2 separate regions of the Homo sapiens genome follow, and region 2 is linked to region 1. The links are contacts of gene promoters, found by promoter capture Hi-C in blood cells and fetal thymus (Javierre and others, 2016). All regions are on one chromosome and are shown on one strand. The core of a region is centred on a gene start or on the middle of the fragment in contact, and the rest is flanking DNA. Distances in the headings are between cores, read along the strand shown.

Region 1 (6,666 bases), core at 151-2,650:
TTAAGGTCATCATTTTTTTCTTTTTCTAAGACCATTTTCTATAGATCTCAAGGTGCATAATATGCATCGCGGAGGCCCTGTAGATTTAGATAGCGATTATAACCGATTCAAGTCAGGAAATTTCTTCTGAAGTATACCTACCTGTGAAACCCTCCATATCTGGGGCGCTCTGTGCCACGGGTGTCAGACTTTTGCAAAAGCCCTGTCATTCTAACGGGACGCCCTCCTGTAGGAAGTTGCCCCCTGGCGCCCGTCCTCCGGCTTCTGATGAAACGGCGACCCACCACCCCCTTCCCAGACCCTGGCCCGCAGCCGGATCACTCCGGGCGCGCTGCCGATCACGTGGCGAAGCGGTGCTCCCCAGCGCCGTGGCTGCGCGCCCATTGGTCGGCGGCTGGAGTCCCGGGCGCGCCCATTGGCTGCGGGGGGCGTTCACGTGGCAGGGGGCCTGGGATGGACCCCGGGGTCCCGAGAGCTGGCAGGAAAGTTAAAGGGGGCAGCGCGGCCGCGGGGAGCTCGAGTCCCGGGTGACTGCTGGAGGGAGGAGGTGACCGCGCAGCTCTCGTGCACGGACGGACTTCGCCGCCCGCGGGGGGCGCGAACCCGAGCCCGGGCCCAGCTCCTGCCGTCACGGCAGCTGTCCCTGTTCCCCCAGGGCGTATGCTGCCGCGGGCTGGCGCGTCTGCCCTCGGGACTTATGAGCTGAACCCGGTACGTAGCTCCCCAAGTCTCGAGTCCGAGGGAAGGGCTGGGGACAACAAGGCGAGGGCGTGCAGCGGGGACCTCTTTGGGTTCCTGTCACCTACATTTTCACCGTGCGACTTGCACTGGCACACCGGGGCTGGAACACTCTAGGTAGCTGGCCCCAGGGAGCTGTTGCTTCAGCGTGGAGAGGGCGATCCAGGGACCGCAGCTGGGAAGCGCCTCCCGGGCCCACGTGCTCCACCGCGCTGCTGGGCCCGGCTGCGACCGTGACCCGGGAGCTGCGGCTGCGGCGGCTGATCCCTTTACCACCTGTTGTTCTGGCTTCGAAACTAGCACAAGTTCCCAGCCCCGGGTCCCGAGAGGTCTGGAGACTTCTCCAAAGTTGGGTAGTGGGGTTTGGAGCTTAAGGACAAGCCGCTTCGTCTCTCTCCGGGCCTTATTTTCCCTATAAAACGCGAGGAAATACACTTGGTAGGCTCTCAGGCCACCGAGGGCGACGGGACCTAGCACGATCCCCGTCCCGGGCTGGCGGAGGCCAGGCGGCCGCGCGGGGGTGCTGGTGTCGCGCTGCTTGCTCCGGCCGGGGTTGCCCCTTTGCCGGCCCCGCCCGGGTGCGATAACGGGCTCCTCCTCCTCGTCGTCTTCCTCCCACCGCCGACATCTCCGGGAACCCAGCCCAGGCCCTGCCTCCCGGACACACCGACGCTCACGTAGTCGCGCTTGCCACAACCCTGCGGGCTCTCCGATGCGGCGAGCGAGCTGGGGAGGGGGCTTCTCCGCGGCCCAAAAGGTGGGTGCGGCGCGAGGCCAAGGAGGCTTGTAGGGAGGTTGGGGGCGGAGTGCAGCCCTGGTCAAACTGGACGGAGGGGACAGAGTCGGAGAGTAACTTGTGGGATCCTCCAGCCTGGAGAGCACTGGCCTGCTCCTGCGTCTCTTTGGAATCCAGAAAAAGGGGTGTGGAAGGCACAGTAGCTGCAAAAGAGGGAGTGGGGGCCGGTAATGACTTACTGGAAGATTTGGGGCCTGTCAGAGCACTGTTTTCTGAAAAAGAGGAGAAAACAGAGGAAAGACTGGACTTGGGAACTTGGAGACTTGGAAGGTGTTGGAACCTGTGGTCTGAGTGGCGGGGGCCTGCCTGGGAGACCCAGGGTGCAGCAGAAGAGACAATTAGAGCTTTGGTCTGGGAGGAAGAGGAGGAGAGGAGGAAATGTTTCCTTGGGCAGAGTTGTCCAGGAGCCAAAACTAAAGTGAAGACAGCTGGAGGACTTACACAAAAGTACAGTTGAGGTATTTAGGAAAAAAAGTTAGTGGGAAGAGAAGCGGCACCAGGGGTGGGTCGCAACATACAATGTCAGGGCCAGCAGGGACCTTGGAGGGGACCTCAAGCCCAGAGCAGCTGAGTGACTCGCTCAAGTAGCAAAGCAAGGTGCGGGCATTCTTAGCCTAGTACTCTGTTTTCCCTCGTACGTTTTTAGACGGCAGGGGCTGTGTCATTTGAACTTGCCTCTTTCCTAGAATATGCAACTGTATTCACAAATGTCAGTCTCCAAGATGCTTTGGATGATGGGGACAGGATCAAGGGGTACAAGGAGCCTTTAAGGCTGTGAATAGGCCCCCATGGTCTGAGTACAAAGGGGAAAGACATGCACTCTCTTCATGCTGGATCAGTGAAACCTTTTGGAAGGGAACACAGAATTGTTGGAGGGAGGTAGATGGCCATGTCTTTAAAAATGAAAATTATAACCTGGTTGTGAATGTTTACTGAATGCAGTTCGGCAGCTTTCAGTGTTCCTGGTGGGTTGCTTGTGCATCTGATTTTTTTGTTTGTTTGGTTTTGTTTGTTTGTTTTGAGACGGAGTGTCGCTCTGTCGCCCAGGCTGGAGTGCAGTGGCGCCATCTCTGGCTCATTGTAAGCTCCGCCTCCCGGGTTCACGCCATTCTCCTGCCTCGGCCTCCTGAGTAGCTGGGACTACAGGCGCCCGCCACCACGCCCAGCTAATTTTTATTTGTATTTTTAGTAGAGACGGGGTTTCACCGTGTTAGCCAGGATGGTGTCGATCTCCTGACCTCGTGATCTGCCCGCCTCGGCCTCCCAAAGTGCTGGGATTACAGGCGTGAGCCACCACGCCCGGCCTTTTTTTGCCTTTTTTTTTTTTTTTTGAGACGTAGTTTCGCTCTGTCGCCCAGGCTGGACTGCAGTGGCGCCATCTCGGCTCACTGCAAGCTCCGCCTCCCGGGTTCGCGCCATTCTCCTGCCTCGGCCTCCTGAGTAGCTGGGACTACAGGCGCCCGCCGCCACGCCCGGCTAATTTTTTTTTTTTGTATTTTTAGTAGAGACGGGGTTTCACCGTGTTCGCCAGGATGGTCTCGATCTCCTGATCTCGTGATCCGCCCGCCTCGGCCTCCCAAAGTGCTGGGATTACAGGCGTGAGCCACCACGCCCGGCCTTTTTGTCTTTTCTTACCAGAAGAAAGAGAGAGAGAGAATAAGAGAATGGAGGGGATAATGTCGTGGCCCTGATACAAAAAAGATTTCCTCCCTATGAAAGGTACAGCCAGAAAGTCAGTAGTTCAGCTGCCTGAAACCGTGAAGGTCATAGGGTTATTTTCTGTGCAGGTCTATAGTTATCACCATGGCCGTCTAACCTTGGCCAGCTGTCTTGAGAAGGTGTGTTATGAGTGGAACAGATAAAGCATTTATGCAAAACTATCTCCATGATCTGTTAGGGTTTGCCCTGTCTTAGCCATGAACACTGTAATCTACCCTCAAGCATGGCCCAGTCTCTCACCAGAGAAACTGATCCCTGAGCTCTGAGGCATCTCTATGGAAGCAAGTGTTTGAGAATTCATACCTACCTGGGAGCAGCACTCATACACTCATTCCTATCCTGCAACTGGTATCAGATCCTGAGTCCTGCTCTCATGGTTCAAATGTATGTCCATAACTTCTGGTTCTTTTTTTTTCCCCCTTGGCCAACTTTGGTGACTCATATTCCCTGGCCTGGGAAAAGGACAGAGCTGGAGCAGCCAGAGAGTCTGTCAGGAGAGGAGGCTGGGCTGCAGCCTGGTGCTTCCTGTGTTGGAACCGATCATTTTCATGTCATTTGTAAAAGAAGCACCTGTCCAGGTGCCTTCTTTTCAGGAACTTAATATTACCTTGCACATCTCAGTTGCTAGGAGTACTTCTGCATGGCGGCAGCCATCCCTGTCACAGTCCGCTGGGGAGTTCCTGAGCAGTTCAGGAAAGCCTACACCAAACCAGCACTTTGGTGTGCTGATTCTTGGAGAATGACCTGGTAAATAAAATCTGGAAGCTATCTGTGGGACAGGCAAGGTGACTGACAGTCGAGTCATACCCCAGATTGAGGCCACACAGGTTAATGTCCTCACCTGCAGTTATGGTGACACACAAAGTGAAGGGATTCTAGACTGGGGTTGCTTGTGCAATGTCCCTGGGGTAGTAGTCCTGCGGGTAACTCTTGAGCCATCATAACCTTACTTTTGCCTTTCATGGAAGAATCTTGTAATAGCAGTTTGGCTCCTTCAAGTGCCAGCAGCATTGTTTAATTAGCTCTGGCTCTGACTAGAGCCTGGCCTCTCCAAGCCGGACTTCTGCTTGTTCTTACAGCTTGGTGATAAAAAGGGATCTCAGGGACAAATTTATGCCACTGGGGTGAAACAGTGAAACTCTACCAAGGTCTTCAGCTAAGTCTCTTCAGCCTGCGGGATTAGAACTTGGGACATTGGCTCTAGTGGGCTGTGTGTAGATTCTTTGATTGATCCTTTTGCTTTGGCTGTTTCCACAATATCTTGAGAGTTTCCAAGGCTTTTCCTAACATGCAGAAAAAGCACGTAGGAGGCTGGTTTGCAGGCTTCTTGGAAGTGCAAAGAGAACTTGCAGATAACCTGTGCTGACTCAGTTGAGGAGGAAGCTGTGAAGAGGAACCCTTCCTCCCTCAGTTCACACCCAGATTTTTCAGGATGGGTAGAGTGGGGGGCACTGGGATGCCAGATATAGCCTCTTGTTTGGTTTTCGTACTTGTTTAAAAACAAGGCTGGGCACGGTGGCTCATGCCTATAATCCCAGCACTGTGGGAGGCTGAGGGGAGCAGATCATGAGGTCAGGAGTTCGAGACCAGCCTGACATGGTGAAACCCCGTCTCTACTAAAAATACAAAAATTAGCTGGGGGTGGTGGTGCACGCCTGTAATCCCAGGGGTGGTGGCACGAGTAGTCCCAGCTACTTGGGAGGCTGAGGCAGGAGAATCGCTTGAACCCGGATGGCAGAGGTTGCAGTGAGCTGAGATTGCGCCACGGCACTCCAGCCTGGGCAACAGAGCAAGACTCCATCTCGAAAAAAAAAAAATTAAAAATAAGACAAAACAAAAACACTACCTGTGTTACAGTTAGAGCTGAGGGTATAATTCCAGCACAGTTTTGCAAAGGACAAGAGTAACTAAAATTTAGATATTTTGTAAGTATAGGATTTTTTTTTTACATTGAACCTGTTAGTCAATCCGTGGAACCTCTGCAAACCTACCTTGCCTAATTCAGTCAGAACTTTCCTTTCCAGAACAGTTACGTGGCTATAAGAACAGATCATTGAAAGCAAATTTGCCCTTAAAATTTTCACTAGATTGATTTTCTTAAAGGGGAAACAGTGAGACAGATATCCTTTAAAATGAATGTTTAAGCACCTGCATTCTGGCCATAAGTTATTGTTTTATTTGTTTCCGAATATGTGTATTTCTCTGACTGGCCATCTGTAAGGGTTTCTTGCATCCCAGGGAAGTTCTGTACTTTTGGAAAAATGGGGTCAAATCTGATATGTGTTCGTCCGTTCACCTTTTTTCTTTACATGTTTGGTTAATCACAATCAGAAGGTGAAAATGAGAGGTTATTTATAGAACTGAACCAGTGGTCCCAGCTCTTTACAGAAGACACTTGGCATGTTGCCTGTCACTTCTCAGGGGTGGCCATGGCTGCTTGAGAGTGAGCTCCCCAACACGTCATCACACACCTACACCTGTGCCATAAGGAGGGGTAAGATAGGTTGAGGGGAGATAGGTTTGGGGACTCATCCAGATCCTGTGTTCTGTGATTCTCAGACTTGAGATTTTAATCCTAGTTTCGGCACTCATTTCCTTAATTTAGTCCATTGAAACTGTCAAATCAAAATATAAATTTGCCATGGTAATTAGAATGATAAAAAGTGCTCAGATTTTGGGAGGCTGAAGCGGGAGGATTGCTTGAGCTCAGGAGTTTGAGACCAACCTGGGCAACATGGTGAAACCCTGCCTCTATAAAAATTGAAAAATTAGCTGGGCATGGAGGTGCACACCTGTAGTTCCAGCTACTTTGGAGGCTGAGGCGGGAGGATTGCTTGGGCCCAGGAGTTTGAGGTTCCAGTGAGCTATGATTGCACCACTGCACTCCAGCCTGGGCAACACAGCAAGATCCTGTCTTATAAAAAAAAAGTGCTCAGCTTTAGTGAGGCAGTAGTGATGGGATGGGTTTTTGGCATATCATAAAATATTTGAGGATTTTTTTTAGGTTCATTTTGTTCTGATGATAGAAGCAATATTATTTTAGAAGATATAATACAAACCAGGATACCAGAAATTCCTGAAATCTTGTCACCTAGGTATTCTGATTTTAAATATATATCTCTAGTCTTTTTTCTCTGCATTTACATAATACAGTTGATCCTTGGACAACATGGAGTCTAGGGGAGCCTAGCCCCCACACAGTCAAAAATCCACATATAACTTTTGACTCCCCAAAACCTTCACTTCTAACAGCTTACTGTTGACCAGAGTCTTACCAATAACATCAACAGTCGATTAACACATATTTTGTATTTTATTTGTAACATATACCGTATTCTTATAGTAAAGTAAACTAAAGGAAAGAAAATGTTAAGAAAATCATAGGAAAGAGAAAATATATTTACTATTCATTA
Region 2 (5,825 bases), core at 828-3,327, 400 kb after region 1:
CAATTTCCATGGTGTAAATATTCCTTCCTGGCCAATTTCACGTTACCAACTTGGTGTCACTGACCATGAGGTTGAGAAAAGATGGGCTAAAAATTTAGCAATTGGCTCTCAAGAGCGAGTCCTATCAGTTCATTTTCTGGGTGTAATTTTAAGGGTAAAACTGAGGCAAGGGTGAAATTAAGGTCTTGGGTTACCGTTTCAATGGTGTCTGCCTCTAAGCCCTTCTCCAGACGAATTTCTGAGGCTACCAAATTTCTTAGGGGAGAAGAACCAGGATGTGGGTTTGCCTTGCGCTCCTGAGAGTTTGGCTTTCTGCTGCGCCACCTGGTGGCTGTAACTGACAGTTGCTGTATTCCCTGCTGCTGTCTTGAATTCAGGCTTTAGGGTTCTTCTCCCCGAGATGGTCAGCATTCTTTGCCCAGGAGCAAGTTCAGTTACTAATAAGGCTTCTCGTGGGTAATTGGACTCTTTAACTGACAATCTCCTTTACTGAGGCCTTTAGGATAAATTCCCAGGCGTTGGGCCAAAGGGCAGTTGAGTAACAAATTAGCAGCCTTGTTGTCCTCCGCTGAAACCACCCCAACTCCACAGCAGTAGAGAGCATCCCCAGGCTTGGTTCATAAATGCCAGAATATCCGGTGTCCTAGCAAATGTCCCAAAGCTCTTGTCACTGTTTTCTAAGAGGCTTAGAGGGTCTTCAGCAAACAGGTCTTCAAGTCTTCCACATTGATATTCGATAGTTCCAAAAGCCGAAGGCATAATCCCATCCGCCATCGCATAAGCCTGCCCTTTCTATCACTACATAATTTTAAGATTATATATAGATATATATAAATTACATACATATATAGATTATATATACACATATATAGATTACATATATATATATATAGATAATAGATAGATGATAGTCAGATAGCAATGATTTGGAGGTTACCTTTTGGTTGCGCTGATCCATACCAATAATCTGCTCCTTAGTGTATTAGTAACTGAGCACTAATCCTATATTTGGGAGTTCCTCAAACATTCTTCCCTTCTTCATTTATTTTATTTTATTTTATTTTTTGTAGAGACGGGGTTTTGCCATGTTGCCCAGGCTGGTCTTGAACTCCTCAACTCAAGCGATCCTCCCGCCTCAGCCTCCCAAAATGCTAGGATTATGGCATGAGCCACTGCACCCAGCCACCTTCTTCATTTTTGTATCTTCTACTTACTATGAATTTATTCATACAACAAGTATCTATTGAGCACAGCTATGTGCTAGTCATGTGGCTAGGATGTGGACACAATGATGAATTAGACATAGATCCAGCCCGGAGCTTGAGGGGCTACCGTGGTGTGGTGGAAACTAGGGAATACATTTGGAAGCCTTAGACAAAGCAGAATGCTGTGGGTGTGATGATGAGGGGCCACTGCACTCCAGCCTGGGCAACAGAGTGAGACCCCGTCTAAACAACAACAACAACAACAAAAAGCCCATACGTTGCTGTAGGTTGCTTCAACAAACAGTTTCACATGTCCCTCTTCCTAAAGATTCCTTTTCAGCTGGTTTGAGACAGAGCCTAGGAATCTTCATGTTAAACATATTGAATAAACACTCAGATAATATTTGATGCAGGTGATCTAGGGAACCCATTTTGAAAAGCATCGTCCTTTAGAGGTGGGTTGCTCCCAAGTCCCGCTGGCATCTTGCCTAAACAGTGCTTTTGTCAGCAGGCTGGATGCTTAGCAAGAACCTGCAGTCCTGGAGTTCTGAATGAATAGATTTTAAACTGGGGCCTATATCACCCTGAGGTTACAGAGAAACTTTACAAGGGTTTCTTGCCAGGTGGTTTTCAGGGCATTCATTTATTGACCCTCAGCTTCCCTTTGTACTGTTTTGTAAAATCCATCCACAGAGGCGCTGCAGGGCCACCAGGTTGGGTCTTCTCTCCCCACCTGCCCTTTTGTCCTCCCACTCTCAGCCTCAAGCTCCTGGGCTCAGTTGATGCTACTGCCTCAGTGATTCTTCCATATTTTTGAATATTTGAGATCATAGACTACATGGATTTGTAACATTAGGTCTCAAACTAACACAGTTTGAGATTCATCTGGGAAACAGAGGATGAAATCAGAGAGGGGTGGACGGTGGGGACGTGGGCTTTCTAGGACAATGGAGAATAGCAGGCAGAGCTGTCATTCAGGGCCATCTAGACACAGCCTCTGCTTTCTACCTGGAAGGGGAGGTGGCCTTGTAGATTGTGAGGCAGGTTCAGGAACAAGGAGAGGCTGATGCTTTCCAATACTACCTCAAATGGAAGCACATGGATTACCAGCGTATATTATTCCAGATTGGCAATGCCTGCCTGAGTCTAAAAGGGTTGTTGCACTACAAGGGTTTAGCTGTTTTCTCAACATTGACGAGGACCTACCTGGACAGAGAATGACACCAGTCCCTTGAGTACTATAGGCAAGTCAGGAGCCAGGACAAACCTCTCCGGGTCTCTCACCCACTCTCTGGGAGCCTCCTTGTTTCTGTTAATTTCTCTCTCTTCGCCGAATTCAATTGGGAAATATAGCAGGTGTATGGGAATGTGTGTATTTCTGAGGGGGAATGTCACTTCTCACTGATCTACAACCCACCTTAAACACTGCAGCATTACATCATGAACAATTTCCCTGGTCAAAACAACAACAACAACAACTCAGTCTAATGAATACACAAGATTTTACTACATGGCCATGTCATACTTTATTTTTCTAGAAGGCAGTATTATTTATATGTATATATATATTAGGTTTCTAAATTTTTATGGTTATATATAAAGTGCTGTATCTTTCAACTTTTAGAAAGTTGCTCTACAAATCTTATGTATTCATTCAAAGAGTATTTATTGATATTTACTATGTGTAAGTCACTGGTCTGGGTAATTTAGAGAGTCCAAAGATAAATCATAATTAGACACTGCCCCAGAGGAGCTTATGACTTACAAGGGAATTAGTACTCTATGGATGGAAGTTATGCTTTATTTCATCTTGATAAGGATCCTCTGAGATGGGCAAGGCGGTGCTACCATCTTCATTGCTTTTGTATGGAGGAACAGGAAGTGCAGACACGTTATGACCCTTGCCTGAGGTCACAGATGGTCTTCAGTCTAGCCTCACACTTGATTGATAGTTTGGCTATGATAATCTAGGTAAATTGTTAAAAATAAATACATTAGGAAAATGCAATGTGATAAACATTTATAAATAAACTTGTGAAATTTTCAGGTTATGTTAAATTAGGTAATAGATATTCACAAAATGTCTGAGTCATTTCTAAGTAAGTTAAAATACTGAAACATAAATTGCTGAACATAAATATATGTTTGTTCTTGGCTTCTTGAATTTTATATAAAGACTAAATATATTTGGGTTTATTAATACACACAAAAATTATGTTTTGGGGAAATGCTTTTTGAAATGATAAAATGGTTCACATCTGCAACATATTGATATGTGACAGACACTAAAAAACATCTTATTTCCTAGGTTTTCAGTAGAAATTAAAGTTATTAAGAGTTAAAAATTCTAACTAATATATATAATTCTGCATATAAAGTTTACCAAAAAATGCGATATGTTTTTAATGAGGATTCTCCTTTTATGACCTTCCCTGGCTCTATTTGTTAGAATTTTAAACATGTGACTGAATTTTGATTCTGACAACTTTCACACACCTGCAAATGATCTTCTAATTTACCTACCTTCGCCCTCCTGTTGTCTTTTTTTTTTTTTTTTTCTTGAGACAGAGTCTCGCTCTGTCGCACAGGCTGGAGTGCAATAGCATGATCTTGGCTCACTGCAACCTCCACCTCCCAGGTTCAAACAATTCTCCTGCCTCAGCCTCCCAGGTAGCTGGGATTACAGGTGTGCACCACCATGCCCGGCTAATTTTTGTATTTTAGTAGAGACGGGGTTTCCCCATGTTGGCTAGGCTGGTCTTGAGCTCCTGACCTCAGGTGATCCACCTGCCTTGGCCTCCCAAAGTGCTGGGATTACAGGTGTGAGCCACCGCACCCGGCCCCTCCTATTGTCCTTTTCAAAAACTATCCGGACCATTTGACCCAGCAATCCCATTACTGGGTAAATATTCAAAAGAAAACAAATGATTCTACCAAAGAGACACATGCAGGTGCACGTTCATCACAGTGCTATTCATAATAGCAAAGACATAGAATCAACAGAGGTGCCCAACAACAGTAGATCGGATAAAGAAAATATGGTACATGTACACCATGGAATACTACACAGCCCATAAAGAAGAAAAAATCATGTCCTTTTTAGAAATATGGATGCAGCTGGAGGCCATTATCCTAAGCGAATTAATGCAAGAACAGAAAACCAATTACCACGTGTTTTCACTTATAAGTGGAAGCTAAACATTGAGTACTCGTGAACATAAATATGGGAACAACAGACAGTGGGGACTACTAGAGGAGAGGAAGAAGGGAGTGGGGCAAGGCCTGAGAAATGACCTATTGGATACTACGTCCACTACCTGGGTGATGGGATCATTCATACCTCAAACCTCAGCATCACACAATACATCCAAGTAACAAATCTGCACTTGAACTCCCTGAGTCTAAAACAAACGTTGAAAAAAACCTATCTGAAAAGATTTTTAAAACTCTATTTTTGAATACTTTTATTGATTTTTTAAGAAAAGTTGTGTCAGACTTTTAATTGTCAAAGCTTTTCTTGTTCTTTGATTTTTATTTTAAGGTGATACTGTTCTTGTTTTATAGATGTCTTGTGTTTGCTTATTTCTCAAACAGTCATAGTTTCTATGGAACTCTCTTATGCTCCCTGTGTTGTCTCTGTTTCTCTGAATTTCTGGTTTCCATTAGTCTGTTTTGGTCTTTTTCTCTTTACTTTTTTTTTTTTTTTTGAGATGAAGTCTTGATCTGTTGCCTAGGCTGGAGTGTAGTGGCATAATCTCAGCTCACTGCAACCTCTGCTTCCCAGGTTCAAGTGATTCTCCTGCCTCAGCCTCCCTGGTAGCTGGGACTACAGGTGTAGCACTACCACGTCCAGCTAATTTTTCTATTTTTAGTAGAGACGGGGTTTCCCCATGTTGTCTAGGCTGGTCTCGAACTCCTGATCTCAAATGATCCACCCACAGCCTCTTAAAGTGTTGGGATTACAGGTGTGAGGCACCGTGCCCAGCCTCTTTCACTTTACTTTTATTTTAGATCTTGTTTTCCCCAAATGCCTGGCAAGTTTGGCCCAGCCATTTATGAGCGAGGCATATTTTTGAGCTGATTGTAGGTTGTGTATCTCATGAGGCTTGTGTCTAGTGGTCTTTACTATAACAGGGTTGGGAAGCGACTGCGCTGCTTTATTGGGCAACCTCTAAGTGTTAATATCCCCAGAGAAGGATGCATGCCCCCGTTTCCTGTTGGGAGAGTGTAAGCTTGGGTGCAGGTGTGACGGACCCGGGCGGAGGAAGAGGCTGGGTGGAGAAAGGTAGGTAGACTCTCACGTACTCCTTGTATTTTTGGATCTGGCATCTCACTCTACTCTTGGAGAAATCTTGAGAATCATCTCTAAAGAAACTTGTGGCTGTTCTTGTGGGTTTCTTGATGACATTGAGTTATTAGGTTGGTGCAATAGTAATTGCAGTTTTCACAATTTTAATGACAAAAACCGCAATTACTTTTTTTTTGGAGATGGAGTTTCGCTCTGTTATCCAGGCTGGAGTGCAGTGGTGCCATCTCAGCTCACTGCAACCTCCACCCCCTGGGTTCAAGCAATTCTTGTGCCTCAGCTTTCTGAGTAGCTGGAATTACAGGTGCTCACCA

The links. Contacts are between HindIII fragments. The CHiCAGO score rates a contact against its expected background, and 5 or more counts as called.
Region 2: a fragment that was not itself captured here is called in contact with the fragment with the promoter of PPP1R3B in region 1 in 1 of 17 cell types (M2 macrophages); the score reaches 5.7 in M2 macrophages.

What each region holds. Positions count from the first base shown.
Region 1 is chr8:9,145,392-9,152,057 of GRCh38, reverse strand. PPP1R3B (protein phosphatase 1 regulatory subunit 3B) reads left to right here and starts at 1,400. Exons shown (of 2, transcript NM_024607.4): 1 at 1,400-1,495. PPP1R3B-DT (PPP1R3B divergent transcript) reads right to left here and starts at 333. Exons shown (of 5, transcript NR_183348.1): 1 at 142-333. PPP1R3B-AS1 (PPP1R3B antisense RNA 1) reads right to left here. Exons shown (of 2, transcript XR_007060810.1): 2 at 6,548-6,666. RefSeq lists silencers at 396-645, 1,146-1,415 and enhancers at 766-1,005, 1,052-2,000. The HindIII fragment of the contact is 22,346 bases long and covers 1-6,666 here.
Region 2 is chr8:8,745,393-8,751,217 of GRCh38, reverse strand. No RefSeq gene overlaps it. Among named protein-coding and RNA genes, the nearest start is that of CLDN23, 46 kb to the right of the region's middle. The HindIII fragment of the contact is 5,283 bases long and covers 1-4,718 here.